2 separate regions of the Homo sapiens genome follow, and region 1 is linked to region 2. The links are contacts of gene promoters, found by promoter capture Hi-C in human tissues and cell types (Jung and others, 2019). All regions are on one chromosome and are shown on one strand. The core of a region is centred on a gene start or on the middle of the fragment in contact, and the rest is flanking DNA. Distances in the headings are between cores, read along the strand shown. Region 1 overlaps B4GALNT3 (beta-1,4-N-acetyl-galactosaminyltransferase 3). Region 2 holds the start of NINJ2 (ninjurin 2).

Region 1 (6,832 bases), core at 3,071-5,570, 99 kb after region 2:
TTAGCACCCATGACCACCCTGTGCCTCTTGAATGTGTCTGTGTGTGTGCACCCTCCTGGCAAACAGAGCAAAGGGCCAGGAGCTTGGAAAGGAAGTGAGAAGAGCAGGGTGGAGACGTGGGGCTGAGTTTTGAAGGCAAACGTTAGGAGAAGGACTGGGGAAGAGAGGCTCCCTTCTGTTGGCCTAGGAGAGGATTGGTCCAATCTGTAGCCAGGCATGTGGATTAGAGCTGGATCTCCAAAGACGAGTGCCCAAGACCATATTTTAGGATAAGAAAATTAAACTTCTATTTATATTGAATTTTATGTAATCCTTTCAAATGTTTCTACTTTTGCATATTTTACTATATATATAATTAGTCCAATAAAAATATGTATAGTTGATAATGGAAGAATGTACATATATTGAGGATGCATGGCCAAAACAGTTTTTAATGCTGAGATTACACTATCAAGAAAGTCTGGAGACTACTGCATTTCAGAGTTTTGTTTTTGTTTTTGTTTTGAGACAAGAGTCTTACTCTGCCACCCAGGCTAGAGTGCAATGGTGCGATCTCTGCTCACTGCAACCTCTGCCTCCTGGTTCAAGTGATTCTCCTGCCTCAGCCTCCTGAGTAGCTGGGATTACAGGCGTGTGACACCATACCCAGCTGATTTTTTTGTATTTTTAGTAGAGACGGGATTTTGCCATGTTGGCCAGGCTAGTCTCAAACTCCTGACCTCAAATGATCCCCCTGCCTTGGCCTCTCAAAGTGCTGGAGTTACGGGCATGAGCCACTGCACCCAGCCTCATTTCGGGGTATCCTAAGGGCTCATAGAATCCAAAGGTTCTGATAGATAGGTAAATCAGTTAGCCTATGTGTAAATCAACTGTCCTCTGTGTAAATCCCTGAGGTACAGAGAAGTGAAGTGACTTGCTGGGGCTGCACGAAGTACAAGGAACATTCCAGACCCTCTGAGACCTGCCTATCCAATCATCCACGCATCCATCCATCCACCCACCAATCTCTCCATCCATCCATCCATCCCTTCATCCATGAAGCTTTATTTTATACTTCAAAACAAAATCAAATGTAAATTATGCTTCAATAAATCCTAGCCAAAAAAATTAAAAACAAATTACGAGTGTTTAACTGGTATGCATCACTGTGCATATATAGGCACGCATCCATCTATCCATCCATCTGTCCCCACGCAGCAGGTATCTGTCCTGTCGTGGTGATCTGCTGGGTCATCTTCCCTACCTCCAGGCCATAGCATCCTTCAATCCATCCGTCTCTCCCCACTCTGCAGGTATCTGTCCTGTCATGGTGATCTGCTGGGTCATCTTCCCTACCTCCAGGCCGTAGCATCCTTCAGAGTCCTCCATTCCTTCCTGTCTCACCTTGCTCCACTTCAGTTCCTTTTCACCCTGATCCTAAATCAATACTATAACTTTTAAATGACTCTCCCTGCTTCTAGCCCTTCCTGGCCCAGTCTGTTCCAAGCACCACTGCTAAATCAATCTTCCAAGTACTCTTGAGTGACTGCAGATTGCCCTTGGTCATGGCGCCCAGTCTGAAATTCTTGGCCCAACCCAGAGGCCCACAGCATATGCCCTGTATTGTGATTCTGTCTTTTGGAGTTAGTGGCTTCTGGAGAAGCTTTAGTAAATTATGCTTCAATAAATCCTAGCCAAAAGTAATAATTAAAATGATGTGAGTGTTTAACTAGTATGCATTACTGTGTGTATACACTCATGCATGCATGCATGTGTATGCTGAGAGCCTGTGTCTGACAGCGTGTGTGCCTGAGCAGGGCGGCAGCTCCAGTGCTCCTGAGGGTTGGAAATCCAGCCGATGATCAGCTGCTGAGCTGTGCACCCTGCCTTGGGGGCCACAGCATTATGCGAGAGGAGGTGCCTTTCTCTATTTCACCCAAGCCTCCAAGCTCTTTTTATTGTCTTCTCAGGTGCTTTCCTCTCAGAGGAAAAGAACACAGCCCAAAGCTGAGGCCTGGCCCAGGTAAAATAGTGAATAGGGTGAGGAAGGTGCATTTTACCAGCAGCAGAGAACCCTCCCGGCTTTCTCCAGCCAGATGTGTGAAGGTGTGAGGGAAGGGGTGACTCTCCAGGAAGTATCAACTGCAACAGAATGTCATTTCAGAGTGCAGAGGTCCTTATGGGTTTTCTCGTCCAACCCTTCATTTTATCAGGCCATGAAACTAAGGGTGTCATTTGCCCTGAGCTTCCCATCTGGATTGGAAAGAGCTTTAAAACCTCTCTCCTCTCTCCCACCTCTCAACTGCTTCCCTTCCAGAGCTCCCCTTGGTAAGTCTGTGCTTTCTCCCCTACAGCCTGGAAGCTCCGACCCCAGGAGCCAGCCCATCAACCTGAACCATTACGCCACCAAGAAGAGCGTGGCGGAGAGCATGCTGGACGTGGCCCTGTTCATGTCCAACGCCATGCGGCTGAAGGCGGTGCTGGAGCAGGGACCATCCTCTCACTACTACACCACCCTGGTCACCCTCATCAGCCTCTCTCTGCTCCTGCAGGTGGTCATCGGTGTCCTGCTCGTGGTCATTGGTGAGGAGCCCAGCCTGCAGTCAGACCTTCTGCCTCGGCACCCGTGGCTGGCAGAAAGGCCCCACGTGTCCCCTGGGCCACCCTGCATTGGCACAGGCAGCTTTGCAACCACACGCTGACCTGCAGTGAGCCCTCCGCTAACAGAGGCCCAAAGACCAACTTCCACCCCGCGAGGGCAGGCGCCCTGTCCTGTCTCCTGGTATCCCATGGAGCAGACCCTCCGCAGTACCTGCTGAATGACTGCGCCAGCACCTCGCTAACTGCTAACTCACTCACTCGCTCACCGCTTCTCCATGAGCACTCGTCCCCACGCTTACAGGACCCAGCTTAAGTTCCCAAATCCTGGTGGGATGAAGCACACTAGGGTGCCCCATTGTACTGGTTGGCGAGGGCAGAGGCATCTCAGCCCGATGACGACCACCTCCCTTGATTTCTGCCACATGGGTTTCTGAAGGGCCCCTCTCTCCAAACTCTGGTGGGTGTTGTGGGGGCAGCTCCGTGCTGTGGCCCCGTCTCTGACCCTTTCCCCCCACTCCACTTCCCTGCAGCACGGCTGAACCTGAATGAGGTAGAAAAGCAGTGGCGACTCAACCAGCTCAACAACGCAGCCACCATCTTGGTCTTCTTCACTGTGGTCATCAATGTTTTCATTACAGCCTTCGGGGCACATAAAACAGGGTTCCTGGCTGCCAGGGCCTCAAGGAATCCTCTCTGAATGCAGCCTGGGACCCAGGTGAGGGAGGATGGAGGAACCCCAGCTCCAGGGACTCCCCAGGTGGCCCTTCTCTCTCCTCTGGGGCTTTGGGGCAAGAAACAGATCCCTTGCCAAACAAAGGGGGAAGGCCTGTAGCTCCGAGAGCAAGGAGAGGATCTGCAAGAGCCTGGCCTCAGCGAGGCTTGCACAAAGCCCCACTGCTGTGTTAATGGCTCTCTGCTCTCAGGCTCAGGTTTTCCCACGGTCTGGGACAGGGTGGAGGCGATGCCATTAGTGGTTGACTCTGCCCCTCCGGCAAGAGGAAAGGTGGAGATGGGGAATTTCTCCCTGCCATTGTCTAGCAGCTCTTGCTACTGACTGTGGTCCATGGGTCAGCAGCATCCACAAACCACCCAGGAACTTGCTGGAAATGCAGAATCTCAGGCTCTGCTCGAGCACGTGCTACAGGCACGTGCATGAGTAACGTGGCCAGGTGCATCCTGGGCATGCTGAAGGTTGAGGGGCATTGATCTGGCCTGCCATCCTCATTGCCTCTTCTCTGCTTCCTCAACAGGTTCTGGGCCTGGAACTTCTGCCTCCTTCCTCCGTGATCTGCCAGGCTCGTGGGCACTTTCCACAGCCCAGGAGAGCTTCTGAAAGGACAGTATAGCTGCCCTTGCTCCCTACCCACAGCACCTGAGTTAAAAAGTGATTTTTATGTTATTGGTCTAAGGGACTTCCATCTTGGTCTGAAGTCCTGAGCTCAGACGCAGGTACTGCCAGCCATACCTTCCTGGTAGCATCTGCTGGACCTAAGTAAGGCATGTCTGTCTAAGGCCAAGTCTGCCCGGCTTAAGGATGCTGGTTCTGACTCTACCCCACTGCTTCCTTCTGCTCCAGGCCTCAATTTTCCCTTCTTGTAAAATGGAATCTATATCTATAAAGGTTTCTTCAAATCCACTCTTGAGTCCACTTACTTGTCTAGTCCTGCAGGCTCAGGCATCCAGGCTGGTCTCCATCTGTGCCTTGGAGAGGGCTCAAGAGAGCAAACCCCAGACCTGGAGGGTGGGAAGGCTTTTAAATTACTTCCTCCTCTGTGGGTTCTGCTCGGAGCCAATGTTCCTGGCCCAGATGTCTTGCGCTTATCGTCATCTGCCCCATGAACTGTAGATTAGTCCATTGCAGGTGGATGCACATATGCACAATCTTCTCCACGAACCTGCTGTAAGCTATTCTGGCTTTCAGTCTCAGCTTCCCTTAGGCATGTGTTTAAGGACTGCAAACTCATTTTGATCTTTGCCTGGGCCAAATATAACGAGGAAGGTAAATCTGTAAAGCATTAGCAAAGCATTGCCAACTCAGAAACAGAAATGATTTTTAGAAGGTCTGCCAGTTTAGAAGCAGCCACTCGTTGGCTTCTCTCCACTGCTCACCAAACCGTTCTGGCCCTATATCTAGCCTTCTCCACCCAGCGTATCCATAGCTTTCCTCGGCTAAAACCACCAACCTCCATTAATCTGCTGAACAGAAAATGCCTAGTCTATTACACGGTGAGCTGCTCAGACAGGAACAATGTTGTCTTCTTCCTGAGTAAACCGCAGTGCAGAGAAGGCCATCTCACACACAGCAGGCATCACACTTGTGGTAAGGGTGGAGGGTGGTGTGGGAGGGTCCTTGGCACGCCCACCTGGGCCCCTCAGCCCAATCCTTTACATCCGTGAAGAGCAACAGGAAAAGACAAGCACCTTTTTTTTTTTCTAAGAAGTTGCTGTATTTAATGCTTCCCCTCCCACCATCCCACACCCTCTCCTACCCAAGACATTTCTCTAGGGAGTAGGGGCCTTGCCCGGCCCTTCCTCTTAAGGCAGATGGTGTGGAGGTAACATCAAACGCAAGGCACTGGCCCAGGGCGCAGGGGTGTGGGCAGGGCAGGAGGCTGGGCTGGCTCCTAGTCATTGGAAGTGAAGCAGGTGGGCAGTTTGGGCTGGTTCCAGCCTTCCAGTGCAATGCCCGAGGACGAGAGTGGTCCCAGAAAGAAACTGGCAGCCCCACTGGCCAACTGCAGCCCTAGCCTATGCCCCACCATCCTTCTCCAGGGGCCAGTCGGCCTCAGCAGGGACCAGAAAAAGCCACAGCCCAGGGAGCAGGTATGGCCTTCCTAAGCCACAATCTCAAAAGTCTCTGTCCTTCATGATTCCTTAAAGGGAGGCAGGGATTCTCCCCGACCCCCCAGAAGGTTCTCCACGGGCTCCATTCTCCCATGTGCCAAACTCGTGCTCTCGGGGAATGCAGAGCCCACTAGGCAGACCCTGCAGCTCCAGTGCCGTGGTTTGGACCGTCACAGCCTGGAGCGCGGGCTCAGTGGCCTGGTCTTCTGGGCCCCGCCGCACCTCCCCCAGCCCTGTGCTCACCTCCCTAAACAGACTCTGGAGTTCAAGATCCAGTGTCCAATGCACCATGGGTGAATTCACAGCAGTGGTGGAGGCAGCAGCAGCAACAGAAAAACCCCCAGCCACAAAAGCACCGGGGTTATTAGTGCAAGAGAAGTACAAGGTCTCCAGGTGACAGAAAGGGTGGCATCGACTAAAAAGGCTAAGGGCTATTTTCCCTGAAACTGCCCCCCTCTTCAGTTCCTCCTGCCCCCACTCCTCTCCCTGCCTCCAGGGGATATCTCAGGGCAATGTCCTCACCTCCCCAAACCTCTCATCCCGCCCCCTTCTTATCCTGCTCCCTGTCCAGGGTTTTGCCCCCGTACACCCTTTCCTCTTCTTCCACTCAAGGCCGGGTGGCCAGGGCTCTCCCTGCAGAAGGGCAGGTCTGCAGTGGAGCTGGACTGTGAGGCTCACAGCTTCCACTTCCCTTTTCGTCCCTTTCTGTCCAGCCCCCACCCGCTTCTTGCCTAAGGAAATTGACAGATATGTCCACATCCTCTTTACCTCTTCTCCATGTCCTCTCGGGAGGCCTTACCCACAGGCACGCCGGTAAGGGAAAGGGCTTCTCTCCCCTGCCTTCATCACCCTGCCTGTTCTGCAGGCCTCAATGTCCAGTGCCAGGGAGTGGCAAGCCCCCTGCCCGCCAGCTCCCCACCTCCCAATGCCCAAGCACCAGAAACAGCCCGTTCTGTGCTTCTGGTCTGACGTGAGCCATCCGGAGGAAGTTAATGCCCTAATCAGTGGCCAGCTGTTTGGTGGCTACTGGGAGATGTGTGTCTCTGGAAGGCACGAGCCTGGGGTGGAGCAGAGACCTGCCCCACGTGGGACCAGTCCCGCGGCCAGGGACAACGCCCAAGGGACATAGGAGTGGGCGGGAGGCCTGCACGTGGGGACAGTCCCTCAGTGCACAACCTCACCCCCGCTCTGGACAGCAGTTTCGGTTTTCTGTTTTTAAAATCCCCGCCCCCCAATAAAATATGTCCACTAGAAGAGGGTCTGGTGGTCAGCGCTTGGCGTGAGGAGCGCTTGGGGGATGTGGGCGTGCACCTTCATGGATGAGGATGGTGTCGCTCAGTCAGATCTCTCCTTCCTGACCCGTCCTTCTCAGGAGCTCTTCCCGTTCTCGACTGAGCAAGTGGTCCCT
Region 2 (6,971 bases), core at 2,880-5,379:
GTTAAGTGACTTGCCTAAAAACACAGTGACTCAGCACACAGAGAGGAATCCAGGCCACCTGGCTTTCACCCTAGAGCTTTTCCCACAATTCAAAATTAAAGGATCTTCTTGCTGTTGCCTTCTTCAGTACCCTACAACAATGCTTTGCTCCTTCTACATAGCAAGATACCTAGGGTCTCATTGTAGACCCCTCATTCCATGAAACTAGACTCAGAGTAGTTTCTGAGTCACTCTGAGTGTCTACTTATCTGTAAGTTCAAGGATATTCCAAAATATGCTTTCCAAGAGACAGTCTCCCTAAAAATGTCCCTCTGGCTTTACACCACAAAAATCACCCTAGCAGTAAAGAACAATAGAAACCATTTCCACCCACAGTGATAACCTCCACGTAGGTGCAGTTTCAGCACCAGCCAAATGGCAGCAACACTCTTCACTACAGCTTCCCTTGCCATCAGTTGTCTCACCAGGGCGTGCATGTGGTGCTTTTATATCCCCGCAGTGTTTAACCCAATATCCACGTGGTAGAGACTCAGTAGTTGCCTCTCAAGTGGGAATTAGACTTCAAAGACTCTGATTAAATCCTAGAGCAGGGGTCAGCAGACTATAGCCTGTGGAGCCAACTCCGGTCTGTTTTTATGAATATCTGACTCTTTTTGTAAATAAAGTTTTATTGGAACACTCCCACACTCGTTCATTTACATGTTGTCTATGACTGCTTTCACATTATTATAGAAGTGAGTCATCGCAGCAGAAACCATATGACACACAAAGGCTAAAAAATATTGGCTCTCTGGCCCCTTACAGAAAAAGTTTACTGGCTGGGCATGGTGACCCACGCCTGTAATTCCAGCACTTTGAGAGATCGAGGTGAGCGGATCGCTTGAGCTCAGGAGTTTGAGGCCAGCCTGGGCAACATGGCGAAACCCCCGTCTCTACAAAAAATACAGAAATTAGCCAGGCATGGTGGCACGCGCCTGTAATCCCAGCTACTGGGCTGGGGGTTGGGGCCTGAGGTGGGAGGATCACTTAAGCCCAGGAGGCAGAGATTGCAGTGAGCAGAGACTGTGCCACTGCACACCAGCCTGGGTGACAGAGTGAGACCCCGTCTCAAAAAATTAAAATTAAAATTAAAAAAGCTTCATATAGCAATTTGAATTTTATAAAAGGGAAAAATGAAAAAGAAAAACTTTGCTGACCCCTGGTCCAGGGTTACAGCGTGATATGGTAGATAAACCATTTTCCAAAGCCTTTTTTCTGTTTACTTCCAAATGATGCTTATGAGATGGGGAAAGGTCCAAATCCAGAAAGATCTTGCCAAACCAAAACCATTATTATAACCAATTACAGCTGTTTCCTTTTCAAACCAATGTGCTTATTAATAGGAAATTTTTTGAAATATATTCGAGTACTTTTCTCTTTTGCATTTTTTTGTTCCTGTTTCCCTCTATTCAGCCAGATGTATCCATATTATTTAAAAGATAATGAGGATTTTCACAACAGGAGTGCAAAGAGAAATAAATAGTTAATATTTTGCTTCTGGCATCCGAAATAAGGTTTTCCAGAAAGTTTTTTTTTTTTTTTAAGACATGGTCTTGCTTTGTCAACTCAGGCTGGAGTACAGTGTCATGATCATAGCTCACTGCAGCCTTCAGCTCCCAGGCTCAAGCAATCCTCCCACCTCAGCCTCCCAAGTACCTGGGACTACAGGTGCTGCAAGCTGCCACATCTAGCTAAATTAAAAAAAAATTTTTTTTTTGTAGAGACAGGATCTCACTGTGTTTCCCAGGCTGGTCTTGAACCCCTGGGCTCAAGTGACCTCCTGCCTCTACTTCCCACAATGCTGGGATTACAGGTGTGAGCCACCATGTCCAGCCAAAAAGTTCTTCTACAGATGGGATCTCACTATGTTGCTCAAGCTGGTCTTGAACTCCTGGGCTCAAGAGATCCTCCGGCTTTGGCCTCCCGAAGTGCTGGGATCACAGGTATGAGCCATGCTGCCCAGCCAAGACAATATTTTTGACAACCAGGTTTTCTTGAGAGAGAGGATTTTCTAAATTTCTTCATTTCCCTTTGAATTGTTGTCATAGAGTTCTACATCAGATACATCCCAGCCAAACAGGAAAAAAAAAAAAAAAAAGAAGACAAAGCGTACATTTTCTGATTCTAGATTAAGGGGACTATGGGAAGAAGTAATCTCAGCTACTCGGGAGGCTGAGGCAGGAGAATCGTTTGAACCCAGGAGGCAGAAGTTGCAGTGAGCCGAGATGGCGCCACTGCACTCCAGCTTGTGCAACAGAGCGAGACTCCATCTCAAAAAAAAAAAAGTGCTTAGAATAGTGCTTGATACATAGTGGTATTATTATGAGCGGTGGGGTGATAGATATTACTGGTAGACTTTTTAAGGAGTGCTGAGAAGAGTGGGTTCCAGGTCTCATTTCCATTCAGGAATGTGGAAGGAGATCACCTCGCAGACTGCCCTGTGTCAGTTGGAGCAGCCACATCAGAGCAAACTCTGCTGGAAGTGGGGCTGAGCTTGCCTTTCCCCTGCCCTTCGTCAGCAGCCCTCAGTCCCCATGTGCCTAAGGGGGCTCAGGAGCACTGGTCAAGCATCTCACAGGAAAATTTCGAGGGGCTTATCTTAGAGATGTGGGCCACTGAGCGGATACAGTGGGATGGGGGCACATACAAGTCAAAGCCAGGTCTCAGGATGGTCCACATTGCCACGAGCCAAGGTAGCGCAGACAGCAAGGGAGAACACTGGATCTCAAAGGCAGAAAGAGAATCACCCATGAGTGACTCTGGCCTAATATCAGACATCAGCCACCAAGGCCAGCAGAAGACCCAGGAGCAGGACCTGTGTCTCCTCAGCAGTCAGCAATTCGGGCGGGCCCGTGGGCCCAGCAGCTCCAGAACAGAAAGGAGCCGAGATGGAGAGGCCACAGGATAGATGCAAGAACCGTCCCCACCCCGCCCTCCTGTGCACCTAGGTGCCATCTTCTGCAAATCCGAAAGACTGAGCATTGTGTCTAAAGTGGACTGTTTACCATTTAAATGATTAAATCCAACTATGCTTCATAGATTAGACTAAAATATGGCCCCCATCCAATCATCCAACCCTCCCTCGCACCACTGTCCAGAGGGATGGGAACTTATAAAGGCATTTCATAGAACTGAAGAAATCGCCTTTTTTTTTTTTTACATTTGAATGTGGTGAGGGTAAACGTGTTGACTCTGCCTGTCTTCCTCCTGCCCGCACCTCTTCAAGCCCTGAATTGGATTACAGGTTAACACCCTGCCATGCACGTCTACAGACATACCCACACCCACACCTGCACAAGCTTGTGTCTAAACCTTGCTTCAGGAACAAGCCAGAAGAGTTTTGGGCTCTAAGGTAAACAGGAGAGGAAAAAAAAAACTTTCTAAAAAAAGACTCCCTCCTGGTAATTTTATTTTAAAAGTAGGGAGAATACCACTGTTTGCATAAACAAGCTTCGAAGGTACAACTACTCCCTGCTCCCTCTATGGCTAATCAAGGGAGGAGTTGAAGGAATCAAACAATCCGTCAGTAAAAACGTATTGTTCACTCACTTTGCAGAACAAAGCCTATGCTTTGGAGCCTATTAGGTAAACTACAATTTTTTTAAAAACTTTTAGGGATATAGGGAACAAAGCAAAGAACAACGGAAATCCCTCTGCCTCAGTATTGAGACTGTGCTGGAGGTCACTCCACCCGTGGCGACTGGGGACTGGACCCAGCGGTGAAGTCAGATAGCGTTGTCCTCAGGCTGTTTTTCAATTTGCTTGATAAACATGCAGGATTTCTTTGCCAGTCATAAAGCTACTAGCTCAAAGCAGGCTGGGTGACCTCAGATGGCTCCGCTGGGACTGGAAGGTCACTGGAGCCACTGGTGAAAATGATGCTGTCACTACCAACTCAAAAGGTCACCTATCAGTGTGCCATGTGCCACCTCCTGGAGCACACACATGTGCACACACATACACTCACACGTGTGTGCAGGTGCACACCTCCCCCAGAGGCTGCAGCCAAGACGGGCATCCCACATCAGAGGGATGAATGGCAGGTCTGTCCCGCCAGCTGTGTGCTCTCTCCCACCCGAAGAAAGCAGCAGAGACTCAGACGGCGGAGCCTGGAGGAGCCCACGCAGTCTGTTCCCGGCACCCGGTGCGTGTGAAGGGACTTGAGGGCAGCGAGATGGAATCAGCAAGAGAAAACATCGACCTTCAAGTAAGTTCTCTCTGGAAGAGAGCAGAGGGGAGACCGGGAGTAGAGGTGAAGCTGGAAGAACAGAGGATTGATACTTTAGTCACTTGATATTCTCCCTCCCCGTTCTCTTCTTACTCACTCCCTTCTCCAAATGCTCCCTAGGCTTTGTCTCTTTATTTTCTCTTTCTCTCTGTTTCCCTATCTGGTTCTTCACTTGTTTTGAAATATCTGAAAAACAGATTGGTTAACTCCCTTTTGGCCTCTGCTTCCTCTTGTCAGTCAAAGAGCTAATTAGATCCGTATTACCAGAAAATGATTTCACATTCTGAGCAGTGCTTTCCCCAAACCCCAGGACAGTAGAGACTTCTCTTAGAGCTGCCGGGGAGACAGGAAATATATGAGTTTTGAGGCTAGGAAGAGAGGCAGCTGGCCAACTTTGCATTTTACAGGTTGGAAAAAACTTGAGCCGTTTCTCGGCTGTCTTCACAAAGCTCTACTGTGTAGGACAGAAAGCGTCTCATTTGGACAGTGCAAGGAAAGGAAATCAGTCTAATCTCCTAGGAAGAGGCAGAGATGTGTGTCCCTCTGTAGCTGGGATGGGCTTGGAAGGCATCAGAGGTTCCAGTCCACTGCTGGAGGGGAAAGGGTGGGATGTTACGGTGAGAGGAGAGCCAGATTGCTGGGAGCTGCACTCTGTGACTCCTTGCCAATGGATAGAATAGAACGAACCCTTCTATGACCACTGCTGAGGCTGTGTAACATTGCAGAGAATCAAACAAAGTGTGGAAAAGGACTTTTGAGATCAAGAATTTCTGATCCCTGAACCTGGTCCTCGAACAAAATCTTAAGCAGCCACCCAATATACACTTCGGATTAAAGAAGAGCTGTTTTGTTGAAGCAGAGTATGTGCACGCGTCTCTCTCTCTCTCTCTCTCTCTCGTTCTCTGTGTGTGTTTTGGGCAGGGTGGCGTGAGTCTGGCAGAGTCTCTGTCCTTGGCCCCTCCGCCCTTGAGACACCACCAGGGAACTGTAGGACTGCTTGGTGTGCTGTGTCAAAACCATTCACCTAGTACAACTGCATACCCAGTGCTGTTTTCCTGGATTGGCAGCCAGCCCCGAGAGCGGTCCCACCGCAAGGCTTGCTTGTCCCTCTGTCTGGAACCTTCTTTCCCTGGCTTATCTCCTGGCTGGCCCTTCCTAGTACATTCAGGTCTCAGCTCAAATGTTACTTCCCCCAGGAGCCCTCCCCTGACCAACCTCTTCACAGGATGCCTCCTCCCCAATTTGTCTTTATCATTTGTTTAATTTCTTTCATAGCACTGCTCACCACCTAAAGTTACACTGCTTATTTATTTAGTATGTATTGCCTGTCACTCTCACTAGGACACAAGATCTCTGAGGGCAGGGCCTCTCCTGTTTTATTCACTGCTGCAGCCCGAGTGCATGAGGCAACTCTTGGTACACGGTCATTGCTTTAGAAAACATTTGTTAAATGAATGAGTTGAGGAAGCCATGAGTTGGAGAGGCTCTGAGATAGGAATAAGGTCACCTAATTGGCCCAAGACCTCCAGTCCATGTCTTCTGTCCCTAGTATGTGTTTTCTTCTTACTTCTAGTTCTTGCCTCTATAAGATCCTTGGTTGTTAAGGAAATTGTGTTGCTGCTTATTTTCATTCTCAGAAGAGCAAGTTTCTTATGTGCTGATGGGTTGAACGATCCAGAGTTACAGGCTAAGGACTCTGCATCTGAACCAGAGGTTCAGAAGGAAAGAGGTGGTGGGAGGAAGGAGAAGGAAATGACTGGCTAGGCTGGATGAATGTCTCTCTCTAGCAGGTAACTGAGGTGTTAGTGTACCTTTCTCTTCATTTGTCATTCACTCTCTTCTAATATGCTATTTAATTCTTGTATCTTACATTTTCCTTTGCTCAGAAGGTTATCCATTATTTTCTACAATTTATTGTCCACCTTTGGCTGGGCACGGTGGCCTACGCCTGTAATCCTAGCATTTTGGAGGCTGAGGCAGGAGGATCACTTGAGCTCAAGAGCTAGAGATCAGCCTGGGCAACATAGCAAGACCCTATCTCTATTAAAAATTTAAAAGTAATTAGCTAGGCATGGTGGCATGCACCTGTAGTCCCCACTACTCGGGAGGCTGAGGTGGGAGGATTGTTTGAAGCCAGGAGTTCAAGGTTGCAGTGAGCTACAATCATGCCATTGCACTCCAGCCTGGGCGGCAGAGCCAGACCCTATCTCTAAAAACAAAACAATAACACTCTTTAGTTAAAACAATGTTTCCCCAAAATGTGGTACAATTATCACCAATGGGTGGTAAAGGTACATCAATGGCTGACAGCTTTTTATTATAATGTTTATTTTTACAGTTTTTTTTGAGATGGAGTCTCACTCTGTCGCCTAGGGTGGAGTGTAGTGGCAAAATCTCAGCTCACTGCAACCTCCGCCTCCTGGGTTCAAGTGATTCTCCTGCCTCAGCTTCCCAAGTAGCTGGGATTATAGGCATGTACCACCACACTTGGCTAATTTTCATATTTTTAGTAGAGACAGGGTTTCATCATATTGGCCAGGCTAGTCTTGCACTCCTGACCTCAAATGATCCACAAGCCTCGGCCTCCCAAAGTGCTGGGATTACAGGTGTGAGCCACCATAGCTGGCCATCTTTATAGTTTCAGTATTCATTAGAAAGAGCATAACAGGGCCGGGCTAGGTGGCTCACGCCTGTAACCCCAGCA

Evidence for each region. The method cuts DNA at HindIII sites, captures the fragments that hold promoters and counts their contacts. A contact is called where the count stands out against the background at its distance.
Region 1: a fragment that was not itself captured here is called in contact with the fragment with the promoter of NINJ2 in region 2 in 2 of the 25 tissues and cell types used here (spleen and thymus).

Annotation. Positions count from the first base shown.
Region 1 is chr12:561,680-568,511 of GRCh38, reverse strand. B4GALNT3 (beta-1,4-N-acetyl-galactosaminyltransferase 3) reads right to left here. Exons shown (of 20, transcript NM_173593.4): 20 at 5,003-6,832. NINJ2 (ninjurin 2) reads left to right here. Exons shown (of 4, transcript NM_016533.6): 2 at 2,334-2,562; 3 at 3,111-3,295; 4 at 3,831-4,216. The coding sequence ends at 3,277. Among named protein-coding and RNA genes, the nearest start is that of NINJ2-AS1, 66 kb to the left of the region's middle. RefSeq lists enhancers at 2,096-2,595, 2,596-3,097, 5,262-5,763. The HindIII fragment of the contact is 5,955 bases long and covers 1,343-6,832 here.
Region 2 is chr12:660,603-667,573 of GRCh38, reverse strand. NINJ2 (ninjurin 2) reads left to right here and starts at 4,129. Exons shown (of 4, transcript NM_016533.6): 1 at 4,129-4,246. The coding sequence starts at 4,214. RefSeq lists an enhancer at 432-931. The HindIII fragment of the contact is 21,671 bases long and covers 2,238-6,971 here.